Linked DNA regions of Homo sapiens: region 2 is linked to region 1. The links are contacts of gene promoters, found by promoter capture Hi-C in human tissues and cell types (Jung and others, 2019). All regions are on one chromosome and are shown on one strand. Each heading gives the region's core, a stretch centred on a gene start or on the middle of the fragment in contact. The rest is flanking DNA. Distances are from core to core; before and after follow the strand shown.

The links. Contacts are between HindIII fragments. The study calls those that stand out against the background at their distance.
Region 2: a fragment that was not itself captured here is called in contact with the fragment with the promoter of MVB12B in region 1 in 1 of the 25 tissues and cell types used here (mesendoderm cells).

What each region holds. Positions count from the first base shown.
Region 1 is chr9:126,323,108-126,330,689 of GRCh38, forward strand. It overlaps MVB12B (multivesicular body subunit 12B), which reads left to right and starts at 3,722. Exons shown (of 10, transcript NM_033446.3): 1 at 3,722-3,903. The coding sequence starts at 3,823. RefSeq lists a silencer at 3,707-3,846 and an enhancer at 4,288-4,939. The HindIII fragment of the contact is 8,205 bases long and covers 1-6,956 here.
Region 2 is chr9:125,310,268-125,317,849 of GRCh38, forward strand. It overlaps GAPVD1 (GTPase activating protein and VPS9 domains 1), which reads left to right. Exons shown (of 28, transcript NM_001282680.3): 9 at 2,185-2,345. Among named protein-coding and RNA genes, the nearest start is that of GAPVD1, 52 kb to the left of the region's middle. The HindIII fragment of the contact is 9,652 bases long and covers 1-7,553 here.

The DNA.
Region 1 (7,582 bases), core at 2,472-4,971:
ATGTATCCCAGAACTTAAAGTAAAAAAAAAACTATATCTACATCTATATCTATATCTATACACACAAATAGATCAATGGATAAAAACAAAGCATTTATAAACGGAACTTAATATATGACAAAAGTGTATATTCTTACACTAGTGGCCCATAGTTTCTTCTGAAGTTTTACATTATATTGTAATATTTGTTAGAGCAATATTTTCTCATTATTCTTCCATTTCAAAAATTTCATGGGTATTTCCTCATACTTATTTATCAAGATAAGTTTCTTGTTAGTTTTTTTTTGTTGTTGTTTGTTTGTTTGTTTCTGAGATAAGATCTTGCTCTGTTGCCTAGGCTGGAGTGCAGTGGCGTGATTATAGCCTACTGTAGCCTCAAATTCCTGGGTTCCAGCAATCCTCCCACCACAGCCTCCCAAGTAGCTGGGACCACAGGCACACACCACCATACCTGGCTCATTTAAAAAATCTTTTTAGAGACAGGGTCTCACTATGTTGCCCAGTCTAGTCGCAAACTCCTGGCCCCAAACAATCCTCCCACCTTGGCCTCCCAAAGTACTGGGATTACCAGCATGAGCCAACACACTCACGCCAATCAAGGTAAATTTTAAAATAATTTCATCATGTTCCATCTCACCTCACCCCTCAGATCATAGTGGTTTCTTGATCTGAATTTTACTAAATTTATAAAGTGAGTTGGGGAGACACAGCATCTTTGCACTGTTGAGACTTCCTGCCCAGGGATTTGTTATATTTTTCCGACTATTAAGATCTTCTTTTATGTCCCTCAGTCAGGTTTGTAGTTTTCTTTCCATGGACCTTCACATTTCTTGTTAAGCTTATGCCTAGTATATGCCTTATAGTATTCATTGCTAATGTGAATATGCTTTTTTTCCATCATACTTCCTAAATGGAAATAACTGGTATTTAGTGTTGTATTTGGAGGTCTCTGTAAGTAATACCTCCCTCCCTATTCTAAGTTTGGAACAAACTGGGGCATAGACACAGGAAAGAGACATAAGACAAAAATACTACCTTAATTTTTAATGAAGCTGACTGGAAAAAGTAGCTTTTGCTCTGTAGCTAAGTGGGCTTGCTATATTTCTCCCTGAATTGAGTAGATTTATTTGTGTAGTGGCGGGTGGTGCAGGAGAATAGTATCACTCTGTCCCTGAAACAGGTTCACTTAACCCACAGTGAGAGCGCATGGAAATATTTGCTCTCTGCAGTCAGCCAAATCCAAAAAGAGAACTCAGAAGCATCTATTCTTGTCCACTTTTTCCAAACTCACTCATCTTCCCTTAGAGTGGAGAGAGGCCAGAAGTCTTATTCTAATGGAAGTCCCTCTATATGGAAAAGAAGGCTTCTCCCTTCAATACCATAAGACAGGGTAAGGAAGAAAAAAAAGAATAATAATAATAATAATAATAATAATAATAAGAAGAAGAAGAAGAAGAAGAAGAAGGAAGGAGAAGGCTTCTCCCTTAACATTTAGGAAAACCATTGATTTTGGTGTTTATCTTATAACTGACCACCTTACCAAAGTCTCTATGATTTTTAGTTGATTTTTTTTATTTTTACTTTTTGGGAAACACTTAAATCATAAGCAAATAATGACAATTTTATCTCTTCCCTTCTAATATTTATATTTCTTATTTATTTTTCTTATCTTATTGCATTGGCTTTATTCTATAGCCATTATAGCAGGCATCCTTTTGACTGACTTACATGAGAATACCTTTAGTGTTTCACCATTAAATATGTTTGTTGATGGCTTCTGATAAACTTTGTCATGTTAAAAGTTTAAACTTTCTTCCTATAATAGTTTACTAAGAGTTTTTAGAAATTTATGGGTCATTAGTTTTGAAGTTTATAAAATACTTTTAAAGCATCTATCCCATTGATAATATCCTGTAATTTGTTTTCCTTTAACAATGCAATGCATTTACAAATTCCCTAATGTTGGATTTTTCTTGCGCCTCTGGAATAAATCTTGCTTGATCATGGTGGGTTTTCAGTTGCTTTAATAGTAAACTGGATTCAAATGGCTAAAATTGTATTTAATAGTTTTACGACTATTATATACTTAAATATATAGTGCAGATTCACATATTGAGGATTTATCAGTGAGCTTTAGAAGGTGGTCCTGGCTCAGATGAGTTTGGGAAATGCCAGGTTAAACAAACCAAACAGGTTTCTTTACTCCTGGACTTCACAGAGGCCTTCCTTAATATACGAATACTTATCGTGATTCTCCAAAAGGTACACTATAAACGGCATGCAGCACTTTCTCAAGTTGCCCACAGAAGCCCATTTTCAAAAAATAAATATTAAATTCTCTGGGGACTCGTGTTCTAGGTTAGTCATCTGCAGTTCTTTTTGGTATTGTCTGTTGGATTTTGGTATCAGGGTTATGCTAAACTTGGGAAATGAAATAAAAATTTTTGTTTCTTTTGTTTATTTTTTCCTGTGTAACAGTTTAAGTAACATAGGGATGATCTGTGCCCTGATGGGAGGATAAGGCTTGCTGTAAAGCCATCTGAACCCATGGCATTTCTGAGTAGTGAAGACACTGGGAATGCACACGTGCATGGCTTCCCTACAGGATGTTTCCCCCGACAGCCCATTCTGCTTGGCACCCTTCTCTTTAGGATCAAACAGCTATTATGGAAAAGCCTAGAATGTGTGAAAATGAGACTCAATGCATTAGCAAATCAATGCTGATCACTCCTGCATGGTCCTCAAGTCCTAACGAATGCTCCAGCCTCCTGGCAGGAAACCTTTCAAATCTTGCACACGCTGGCCTCTGCCTGGGGTGCCTGGCTGGGCGGTGTGGGGGGCATGGTTGGTTAAGGCGCAGAGTCCGCCTTTCCTACCAGCCACTCTAGCTGAGGGTCAAGCTCTGGACCCTCCCCCAACCATCCAGCTCCATTTTATCCTTGGCTTATGCCTTCCCCAAGTACTGCAGGGTAGGACTCCTGCTAAAAACTTCTTCTAGATGCTTGCCTGAGGCTGGCCCCATAAACCTGATTCTAGGCTTCTGGGGATAAATCATCTAACTAATATAAGAGAATTGCTAGGCAATTGGGGTTAGTTTGAGACGACTGGCTGAGCTCACCTTAGGTGAGCTGGGGGGTGGGGGAAGATGAGCTGAAGGATTCTAGGGTTCAGTGAAGCCTAGAATGGCTGGGTGGGCGGAGAGTCCTTAGAAGGGTCCAACTTCTAGCCTGAGGGCCTGGGGGCTTCCAGGGATCTGCAGCCGAGCGGAAGACCGGTCTTGCGTACAGCGAGGCCTACGAGAGCTAAGTGGGCTGAGGGTCCCTGGAAAAGACCAGCCTGGGGGCGGGGACCATCGATGCCCCAGGCTCTAGAGGCCGTGGGCTCCCGGGGGCCTGAGGCTGGACTGGGGTCGCCGGCGGGCTCGGGGAGGCCCGGGTGGGCGCACCGGGGCCCTGCCTGCGGCTGACGGGCTGGGTCGAGGGGGAGGCTGGGGAGGCGGGGTGCCGGCCGGGGCGGCGGCGCGGGCTCGGGACGCCAGGGCTCCCTCTCCCTCCTCCCGCCCGAGCCAGCCTCGGGCGCCGGGCGCCTCCCCCGATCCTGAACCAGCGCCAGCGCCGGGAGGCCCGGAGCCCGGCCCGCCGCCGCGGCCCGCGGAGGGAGCCGCCGCCGCCACTGCCGTTGTCGCCGCCGCCGCCAGGCCGCGCCCCGCCCCTCCGCCGCCGCCGCCGCCGCCGCCGCTCTCGGTGAGGCTCGCGCTCGAGCTGCGGCGCCGGCTCCTGCCGCCTGGGCCCCGGGCCCGGCCCCTCCCGCGCCGCCCGGGCGATGAGAAGCTGCTTCTGCGTGAGACGGAGCCGGGACCCGCCGCCGCCGCAGCCACCGCCGCCGCCGCCCCAGCGGGGAACAGTTAAGTGAGGCCCGGGCGCCGCGGAGGCTCGGCGGAGCCGGCCCTGCAGCCGGGAGGGCGGGCGGGCGGGCGCGGGCCCCCGGCCGAGGGGCGGGCGGACGGGAGGAGCCGGGCCGCGCCGAGGCCTGCGGGCTCCGTGCCCGGCCCGCGGCGGGGACAGGCCCGGGCGGCCTTTGCAGAGCCCCGAGCGCGCCGCGGCTGCCGGTGCCCGGGCTCGGCCTGGCGGCGAGAGGCGGGAGAAGCTGGGGGACCCGAGTGCCAGCAGCGCCCCCAAGGCCCGGGCAGGTGAGGGGCGCCGAGAGCCACCTCTGCCCGCGTGAGAGGGAGGCGGCCCACCTGGGCACAGACTGGGAACAGTCAATCGTTTGACCGGCCTGGCCTGGGGTCCTGCTCTCTCTGGTCACGTGGGTGCAGACCAACGTGCACCTGCCCCAGGAGCATCACTGCCTCTGTGACCTGGGCACAGCAGAGAGGACACCTAAACCCTCAGGCACCTGTCTGGAAGGTGACATGCCCAGCCTGGGTACCCGAGACCCAGAGCACCCATCCAGGAACATGGTGGGCACGTCGAGCACCCTACAGTGACTCCAACACCAGCGAGACGGGAGGAGCAGGGGCTGGGACAAGAGCTGAGGCATGGCACCAGGGGACATCACATCCTCAGAGGCAGGCACCAGGGAACGGGGTAGACCCAAGAGCATCTTTTGTCCTCTTTGTTACCAACACACAACTGTTCTAAATCAGCAGCCCTTCTCACCATGAAAGATGAGACTCTTCTGTTCCCTGCCCCTCAACACCTCTTGCACAAGGCACTGAGGAAGACCACAGGAGGGCAAAAGGCAAATGGTGGTTGCCCCTTCCCTGCTTCCTGCCCCCACCCAAGAACCAGAGCCCACTCCGATTGCTGCCACAAAAGCAGACAGCAGACCAGCTCCTCTTAGGGGCCTTTGTCTCTCGTGGTTCCTTCTCAGTATAATCTCATTGTACATTTCTCGACAGCTGGCTGGATCTCATCTCGTTTTAACAGGGCTGGGAAATCTTATCAGCGGCACCAGGAAAGCTTAGAGAGTTAAAAAATAAGCTCTGTGAAGCCTTGACTAACTGAAAAACTCAATGTGCTAGGATGTTTAGTTACAGTAGATGGTGACACCTTTCTTGCTTGTTAGAAATCATGTGGGGTCCTTGGAGATACTGTACCATGCTCAGAATCTTTAAATAGGGCCTCAGAGAGATGAGGCTTCTGCTTGGGACCCGGGCTCCAAGCCCCATGGGAAGCAGTTGACGTGGCGATTACTGGTTCATTTAAACCTAAACTTACCTTCTGTAATCCATATTTTTCATTCCTTCCTTCTAGGCTTTAGGTCACACTCCTAATTTAGGTTCAAGGCATTTTTCTTGCCCTGTCTCCATCCTGCTAGGGACCTTTTACCACTTCCAACTGGAATGTTGTGCCATGGTTATGTGCAGGGAGTTTAGAATTAGCCCTCAGCTTAAGTCTTGGCTTTCCTACTTACTTTGTGCCCTTGGACAAATTATTGAACTTTTCTGAGTTTCAGTTTCCTCATCTGTAGAGTGAAACTAATGATAGTATTCATCTCATGGGATTATGGCGTGATGTAAATGAAATTTTGCAAGAAAAGTCTAGCTCAGTGCCTGCTACATGGCAAGAAGTCAGTAAACGGTAGGGGTCATTATGAGAGGTTTGTTAACGGATGAATGAGAGGAGTAGCTTATTTATTTATTTTTAGAGTTTCTTTCTGTCTGCTTTTTTTTTGGTTTTTGTTTGTTTTTGAGACAGGGTCTCACTGTCACTCAGGCTGGAGTGCAGTGGTACCATCATGGCTCACTGCAGCCTTGAACTCCTGGACTCAAGCGATTCTCCCACCTCAGCCTCCCAAGTATAGGTGCCTGCCACCACGCTCGGCTGTTTTTTTAAATTATTATTATTTTTAGTAGAGTTGGGGTCTTGCTATGTTGCCCAAGCTGGTCTTGAACACCAGAGCTTAAGTAATCCTCCCACCTTGGCCTCCCAAATTCCTGGGATTACAGGCATGAGCCACCACGCCTGGCCTATTATTTAGTCTTCAACGGGACAACCAGGAAGTGATGGTATAGTAGAAAGAACACTGGACTTGGATTTAGGAGCTTGAGTTTGACTCTCAGGCTACCTCCTGGACCCCAGGTGACCCTAGGGGAGTCACAGAACCTTTCTGAATCCCCATTTCTGTAATGTAAAAGTGTCTTAAGAACAAAGCCTACCCCATAAAGCTAATCAGTCAAGAAGAGCTGAAGGAGCTAATGTATGTGACTGCACTTGGCACTGCAGGAGGTGGCGGTCCTCATGAAATTTAAGTGTGCGATTCAGCATCCAGCAGCAGATCATGGTGTTTTTTTCAGGTCCGATGTTTATACAGTTTGTTGCGGGGAGAGCATTAAGAAAAAGAATACAAGAATATCCTGTGTTTGTACATGTTACAGAACCACGCCACCATGTGAGCACACTGCTGGATGCCCTCTCAGGGCCTTGGAAGGGGTAAGGGAGAAGTGTAGTCTCTATCCATTTCATGGAGGATCTTCTCCTGGGGGGATCAGAATCCAAATGGCATAGGCCCCTCTGTCTGAGTTTGCTGGAAGTGCTCCATACTCAAAGGGAGACATCCTTGCCACACTGCAAAATAATGATGGTGCTGGAGTCAAGCATGGGAAAAGTCGAAGGTGCTATTATGATGATGAAGATAACAAATGACTACATGGCTGGATGTGGTTAGGCTGAGCACACTGTGTTGCAGAGCCTCCTTTGCAGGTTGGGTTGTGGAGGGGAGGCCTGGGTTTCTTGAATAGACTCCTTCTCCCCAGGCTGCTCTGGCTCTCACCGAGGCCCACCCTGGCCAGCATTTCCCCAACCCACCCCGCCCCCAACCCCGGCTCTCCTTGGCCTTCTGCTTGCTGGGCTGCCCTAGGGAATCGTGGCTTCCCTGCGCTGTCTGCACTAGTTGCAGTGGGTTTGCCAGAGTCAGGTCTCCTGTCTCCGGCTGCCTGGGAGGCAAAGCCACTGCAGAGTGTGCTTGACATTACCTCCCTTGTTGGGGACATCCTGTGGGCATGCATTTGGTTTACTTGACACGCTTCTGGCGAGATGCAGAGCTTGTCCAGGCAGAAATGTGAGAGCCCTGTGGGCCTGGAGCCCAGGGGTTGCACATAGTAGCTTTGTGGCTCATACTTCCCTTAGGACTGGAGGGCCATCTTGTTGGACCTGTGGCAGGAGTCAACATGAGTTTGTTCTTTCTTTCTTTACACACACACACACACACACATACACACACACTTAAAAAAAACAGATTCTAATCAGCAGAGCAGAATATTCAAAAGAATATCCCCTGATCCTTTAGAAGAGAGAAATAAATGAGTTTGTAATGCACTAAATATGCCTGTGGTGTTGATGAAAATGCAGATTCTAGGACCTCATACTCAGACTTTATTGAGTCAGAATCTCTGGGGAACGGGACCTGGAATCTGCAGTCTTAACAGACACCTTGGGTTATACTTCTTCTTACTGAAATTAGAGACCTACAGTTCTTGATGCTTTCTAAAAAAGTGTTAAATACACGTAACATAAAATTGACCATCCTACTCATCTTTAAGTGCACAGATCGGTGGCATTATGCACATTCACACTGT
Region 2 (7,582 bases), core at 1,478-3,977, 1.0 Mb before region 1:
ATTGATGTGTGCTCTGAATTTTCAGATTAAAAGTGATTAATGAACATTAATCAGCATTGTAAAGAAAGGTGATTGTTTATATTTCTGCCTCTGTCTTCAAGTGGGTCAGCTTTCATACAATGTGAAGTTGACTTTTGCTGCTACTATAGTTGTTTTTGCTTTATGTCTGTATTTTTTATTATTTTGTACCAAAACATAATTTCTATTTAGTATTCTGGTTGTACTGAATTTTATTGTCTTCTGAAAGAAAATAGAAACTTTTTTTCTTGATTTTTTTTTTTTTTTTTTTGAGGCGGAGTCTAGCTCTTGTTGCCCAGGCTGGAGTGCAATGGCGTGATCTCGGCTCACCGCAACCTCTGCCTCCTGGGTTCAAGCCATTCTCCTGCCTCAGCCTCCCAAGTAGATGGGATCACAGGCGTGTGCCACCACGCCAGCTAATTTTGTATTTTTAGTAGAGATGGGTTTTCTCCATGTTGGTCAGGCTGGACTTGAACTCCCGGCCTCAGGAGATCCACCCACCTCAGCCTCCCAAAGTGCTGAGATTACAGGCGTGAGCCACCGCGCCCAGCCTTCTTCTTTTTTTTTTTTTTAGACGGAGTTTCGCTTTTATCGCGCAGGCTGGAGTGCAATACTGCGATCTCGGCTCACTGCAACCTCCGCCTCCCGGGTTCAAGTGATTCTCCTACCTCAGCCTCCCAAGTAGTTGGGATTACAGGTGCCTGCCACCATGCCCGGCTAATTTTTTGTATTTTTAGTAGAGACGGGGTTTCACCATGTTGGCCAGGCTGGTCTCAAACTCCCGACCTCAGGTGATCCACCTGCCTCAGCCTCCCAGAGTGCTAGGATTACAGGTGTGAGCCACTACACCCAGCAATTATTTTAGAAAAAAATATTTTTCATCTGCTTATACACAGGGGAAAGAAACAAAAATAATTGAAGCCTTTATTAATTTATACTGTTTCCAAAGCAGAAAGGACCTCTTCTCCAAACATAAATAAATTTTCTCTCTTTTATCTTTGAAAAGACATTAATGCATTTCAGGGGGGGAAGGTACATTTAAAAACTGATTCTGGGCTGGGCACGGTGGCTCATGCCTGTAATCCCAGCACTTGGGGAAGCCAAGGTGCGTGGATCACCTGAGATCAGGAGTTCAAGACCAGCCTGAGCAACATGGCAAAACCCCGTCTCTACTAAAAGTACAAAATTCACCAAGTGTGGTGGTGTCTGCCTGTAATCCCAGCTACTTGGGAGGCTGAGGCAGGAGAATTGCTTGAACCCAGGAGGCGGTGATCGCAATGAGCCGAGACTGCGCCATTGCACTGTAGCCTGGGCAACAAGAGTGAAACTCCGTCTCAAAAAAACCAACACTGATTCTGGTTTTGTTAACAGTTGCCTAACTTAAAGTATCCTATTTATGTGGCTATTAGGTTTTCATATAAAATTTTCTTTATTGTTTCTTTTTTTTTTTTTGAGATGGAGTCTCACTCTGATGCCCAGGCTGGAGTGCAGTGGTGCAAACTTGGCCCACTTCAGTCTCCGTCTGCCTGGTTCAAGTGATTCTCCTGTCTCAGCCCCCCGAGTAGCTGGGATTACAGGTGCATGTCACCATGCCTGGCTAATTTTTTGTATTTTAGTAGAGATGGGGTTTCACCGTGTTGCCCTGGCTGGTCTCGAACTCCTGAATTCAGGCAATCCACCTGCCTCAGCCTCCCAAAGTGCTAGGATTACAGGAGTAATCCCTCATATGAAATTTTCTAATGCTTGTAAGCTCAGTTATTGGTATGGGAGACCTGTAGCAGTTACATCAATTTATAGGAAAAATAGTGAAGGTATCTTAAAAAGATAAGAAATGAGGTAATGCTTTTCTTGTCACTCCAAGTCTTAAATTTATTGTGACATGTTTGCTGTTCTGCAGATGTGATCATCTGTGTGGCACTTCCTGTCAGATGCACTTGGATCATTGTTCTTGATTATCAGTTTTGAAGGAGAATCTTTATTAGTCAGTAGAGTAACTGGGAGGATCTGGTTTGTTTTGTTTTGTTTTGTTTTTTCTTATTTATATTTTTTACCACTCTTGTGCATGTGCAAATGTTCTGCACTAATAGAAAATATATTCATATTTAGCATACCATTTTCTTCATTTGTCTATTTCTCTAAATTATTTTATTTGAAATTTTTTATTAGCAACTCGGAGCAGAAGCCGCACCAATATGCTAATGGACCTACATATGGACCATGAAGGATCATCTCAAGAAACCATTCAGGAGGTGCAACCAGAAGAGGTGTTGGTCATTTCCTTAGGTACAGGTCCCCAGCTTACTCCAGGGATGATGTCAGAAAATGAGGTATGAATCAGTTGCTTCTATAAATCAATATTCATGTCTTAGTCCATACAGGCTGCTGTAACAAAACACCAGAGGTTGGGTGGCTTATAAACAACAGATATTTATTTCTCACATTTGTAGAGGCCAGGAAGTCTATAGTCAAGGCAGATTCAGTGTCTTGTAAGGATCTGTTTACTGGTTCATAGATGATGTATTCTTGCTGTGTCTTTGGGCTTATTTTTTTTTGAGATGGAGTGTCACTCTTGTTGCCCAGGCTGGAGTGCAATAGCACGATCTCAGCTCACTGCAACCTCCCAATCCCGGGTTCAAGCAATTCTCCTGCCTCAGCCTCCTGAGTAGCTGGGATTACAGGCATGCATCACCATGCCCAGCTAATTTTGTATTTTTAGTAGAGACAGGGTTTCTACATGTTGGTCAGGCTGGTCTCAAACTCCCCAACTGAGGTGATCCGCCTGCCTTTGCCTCCCAAAGTGCTGAGATTACAGGTGTGAGCCACCGCGCCTGGCTGGTTGGGCTATTTTATAAGGGCACTTATTCCATTTGTGAGGGCCCTGCCTTCATGACCTAATCACCTCTCCAAAGGCCCGATCTCCAAATACCATCACCTTGGGGGTTAGAATTTCAACATACAGATTTTGGGGGAGCACAAACATTCAGATCCTAGCAATGAATTTTTTTTTTTCTTTTTCTTTTTCTTTTTTTTTTTTTTGAGACAGAGTCTCACTCTGTCACCTAGGCTGGAGTGCAGTGGCACGATCTCAGCTCACTGCAAGCTCTGCCTCCCGGATTCACACTGTTCTCCTGCCTTAGCCTCCCAAGTAGCTGGGACTACAGGTGCCCGCCACCACGCTCGGCTAATTTTTTGTATTTTCAGTAGAGAAGGGGTTCCACCGTGTTAGCCAGGATGGTCTCGATCTCCTGACCTCGTGATCCACCTGCCTCGGCCTTCCAAAGTGTTGGGATTACAGGCGTGAGCCACCGTGCCCAGCCATTTTTTTCTTTTTTTTTGACATGGAGTGTCACTCTGTTGCACAGCTGGAGTGCAATGGTGCGATCTTTGCTCACCACAGCCTCTGCCTCCTGGGTTCAAGCAATTCTCCTGCCTCAGCCTCCTGAGTTGCTGGTCTTACAGGCATGTGCCACCACACCCGGCTAACTTTGTATTTTTAGTAGAGACGGGGTTTTGCCATGTTGGCCAGACTGGTCTCGAACTTCTGACCTCCAGTGATCCACCCACCTTGGCCTCCCAAAGTGCTGGGATTACAGGTGTGAATCACTGCACCCAGCCAATGAATTTAATGCTTAATTCTTTGTTATCTTCAGTGGTCCCACCATGACACACCATCACATGCTAAGCTCCCTGTGAACAGTTGTGAGGCCCTTCACATTAATACATCTGTGGCACTGAGGTTGGTGAATAGGTCCAAGCATAAGGAATTTTCCAGGCAGTAGCAGAAGAGAGATGAAGCCAGGAGATTGTGGTATGGAAATTAAAGAGACTTTTCCAGTGACTTGTAGGAAATGTTTTGTGTTCATTTTCTTTCTAGTGGTATACTAGTAGTATTCCTGCATTATAGAGCCAAAAATATGTTGAGATGTATTTTGAGATACATGTTGTATTCTTTGGCTGGTCAGGAAAAAATGGAAGAAATAATGGAAAACTAAGAAAATAAATTTTTTTAAGAAATGGAGTTTGAGGCTTGGGAATCATTTTTAATATATTTGTAACAAAAAGCTTGGCTTAAAGGTGAATGAAAAGAAGGTCAGGCCTGGTGGCTCACACCTATAATCCCAGCACTTTGGGAGGCCGAGGTGGGTGGATCCCCCGAGGTCAGGAGTTCGAGACCAGCCTGACCAACATAGTAAAACCCCATCTTTACTAAAAATAAAAATTAGCTGGGTGTGGTGGCGCATGCCTGTAATCCCAGCTACTTGGGAGGCTGAGACAGGAGAATCGCTTGAACCCGGGACGTGGAGGTTGCAGTGAGCTGAGATCGCCCCATTGCACTCCAGCCTGGGCAACAAGAGTGAAACTCTGTCTCAAAACAAAACAAAACAAAACAAAAAACAGAAAAAAGAAACAAAAAGACAAGAAGAAGAAATCTTGACTCCCTAAAGATAGGAGTCTCTTCTCATAGAATTGTGAAATTGTGACCTCCTGAAAAAGTAGCAGCTTCTTTTTTTTTTTTTTTTGAGACGGAGTCTCACTCTGTCACCCAGGCTGGAGTGCAGTGGTGCGATCTCGGCTCACTGCGAGGTCCACCTCCCGGGTTCACGCCATTCTCCTGTCTCAGCCTCCCTAGCAGCTGGGACTACAGGCGCCCGCCACCACGCCCGGCTATTTTTTTGTATTTTTAGTAGAGACAGGGTTTCACCATGTTAGCCAGGATAGTCTCGATCTCCTGACCTCGTGATCCGCCCACCTCGGCCTCCCAAAGTGCTGGGATTACAGGTGTGAGCCATCGTGCCCTGCCAGTAGCAGCTTCTTATATTCAACAGTGATTGCTTGTTATTCAAGAAAATGGGCTAGAAAGAAGAGGCCAGTTTTAGTGATTGATAAAGTGATGGTGGTTGGTAAAGCTGTGTTTGGGACTATGACATGATACCCCATAGGGAAGAAGACCAACAATCTTCGAAACTCCATCCTCCACACACACACACAAATAAGCTGGCAAAAACTGTCAGAATCAACTTATTTGGAACTCTGGAATCTAATAAAAAACTTTTAACAACAAAGGAATGCTTAATGAAGAAAAAGACTGCTGAATTTTGTTAAGAGAGCTCTGTGATCCTACCCTGTTACCATCTTCAACCCCCAGCCCAGTGGCTGCTTTGAAGACAGCTTATATTACTGTGCAGTGTGCTGGTACTTGAGGGAGGAATGTGGACCTTATTCTGAAAGCAGCATGGTTGTGTATTTTGATCTGTCTGGTAGGTCCTGAAAGATCGTCTCAAAGGCTTGGCTTTGTTTTGCCTGCCTCTGATCTTTCCCAGGGCCGAGGCAGCTACACAGGTGGCATTTGTCAAAAGTATTGAAAAGCAGATATATTAGTTGCTTCTGCTTGCATTAAGGGATAACAGTCAGGGCAATCCGCATACAGATCCAAATGCTTATGAAGGAAGAGGCTTGGGAAGGAGACACCAGGGGGCACAAAGGCTTTGAAAAGCTCCCACGTGTTCTGGGGAATCTACCAGGTTGTACACATACCCAGGGCTGGTCATGTGCTCAGGAAAGACCCTAGAAGATCCAAGCTCTCACTGCTGGGTAACCTTCAGGCTGAACCCAAGTAGGAAGTGAAGGCTAAGGTACAGTTGCAAACTGCCTGGCTAAGTGTTGAAGTTCCCCAAAACAGAGCCAATCTTCAAAGACTTGGAAATGTTTTGTTTTGTTATTCCAGGTGTTAAATCTGCCAAATCACGTGCTCACCACTAAGCTAACAGAACAGAAACTTCAGAGGCCACACATGACAGAAAATTTAGAGAGATCATTAAATAGTCACTACAACAAGCAGCAACAACCAACTAGGGGTTAAGGGTATATAATCTGATTTCCAGAATTGCCACTTTGTAACATTTATTTGTTTATTTTTTATTTTAATTTTTTTATTATACTATAAGTTCTGGGATACATGTGCAGAACGTGCAGGTTTGTTACATAGGTATACATGTGCCATAGATCTACATTAGATATTTCTCCTAATGATATCCCTCCCCTAACCCCCTACCCCTGCGACAGGCCCCAGTGTATGATGTTCCCCTCCCTGTGTCCATGTATTCTCATTGTTCAACTCCCACTTATGAGGGAGAACATGCGGTGTTTGGTTTTCTGTTCCTGCATTAGTTTGCTGAGAATGATGGTTTCCAGCTTCATCTGTATCCCTGCAAAGGACATGAACTAATCCTTTTTTATTGCTGCAAACCACTATGGCACATGTATCCCTGCAAAGGACATGAACTAATCCTTTTTTATGGCTGCATAGTATTCCATGGTGTATATGTGCCACGTTTTCATTATCCAGTCTATTGTTGATGGGCATTTGGGTTGGTTCCAAGTCTTTGCTATTGTGAATAGTGCTTCAATAAACGTATGTGTGCATGTGTCTTTATAGTAGAATGATTTATAATCCTTTGGGTATATACACCCAGTAATGGGATTGCTGGGTCAGATGGTATTTCTGGTTCTAGATCCTTGAGGAATTGCCACACTGTCTTCCATAACAGTTGAACTAATTTACACTCCCACCAACAGTGTGAAAGTGTTCCTGTTTCTCCACATTCTCTCCAGCATCTGTTGTTTCCTGACTTTTTAATGATCACTTTATAATATTTAAAATGTCTGCTTTTCAGCAAAACTTATGAGGCATATAAAGAAACAAAAATATGGCCCTTTCACAGGAAAAAAGTTAATAGAAAATGTCCTTGATGGGCCAGGCGCAGTGGTTCATGGCCGTAATCCCAGCACTTTGGGAGGCGAAGGTGGGCTGTTCATGAGGTCAGGAGTTCGAGACCAGCCTGACCAACATGGTGAAACCCCGTCTCGACTAAAAATACAAAAATTAGCCAGGCGTGGTGGTGTGCACCTGTAATATCAGCTACTCAGGAGGCTGAGGCAGGAGAATCGCTTGAACCTGGGAGGCGGAGGTTGCAGTGAGCCAAGATTGCGCCATTGCACTCTAGCCTGGGCAATACAGCGAGACTCTGTCTCAAAAAAAAAAAAAGAAAACGTCCTTGATGGCCGGGCGGTGGCTCACGCCTGTAATCCCAGCACTCTGGGAGGCTGAGGTGGGTGGATCACCTGAAGTTGGGAGTTTGAGACCAGCCTGAGCAACATGGAGAAACCCTGTCTCTACTAAAAATACAAAATTAGCCAGGCCTGGTGGCACATGCCTGTAATCCCAGTTACTCGGGAGGCTGAGGTAGGAGAATCGCTTGAACTTGGGATGTAGAGGTTATGGTGAGCTGAGATTGTGCTGTTGTACTCCAGCCAGGGCAACAAGAGCGAAACTCTGTCTCAAAAAAAAAAAAAAAAAGAAAAGAAAGAAAAGAAAGAAAATGGCCTTGATGAAGCACAGACATTGGACTTACTCAAGACTTTAAATCAATTTTTTTTTTAATATACTTAAAGAGCTATGGAAACCACGGACAAAGAACTAAAGAAAACCAAGAGAACAAGGTCTCACCAAATAGAAGATATCAATAAAGGGGTAGAAATTACAGAAGGAACCATATAGAAATTC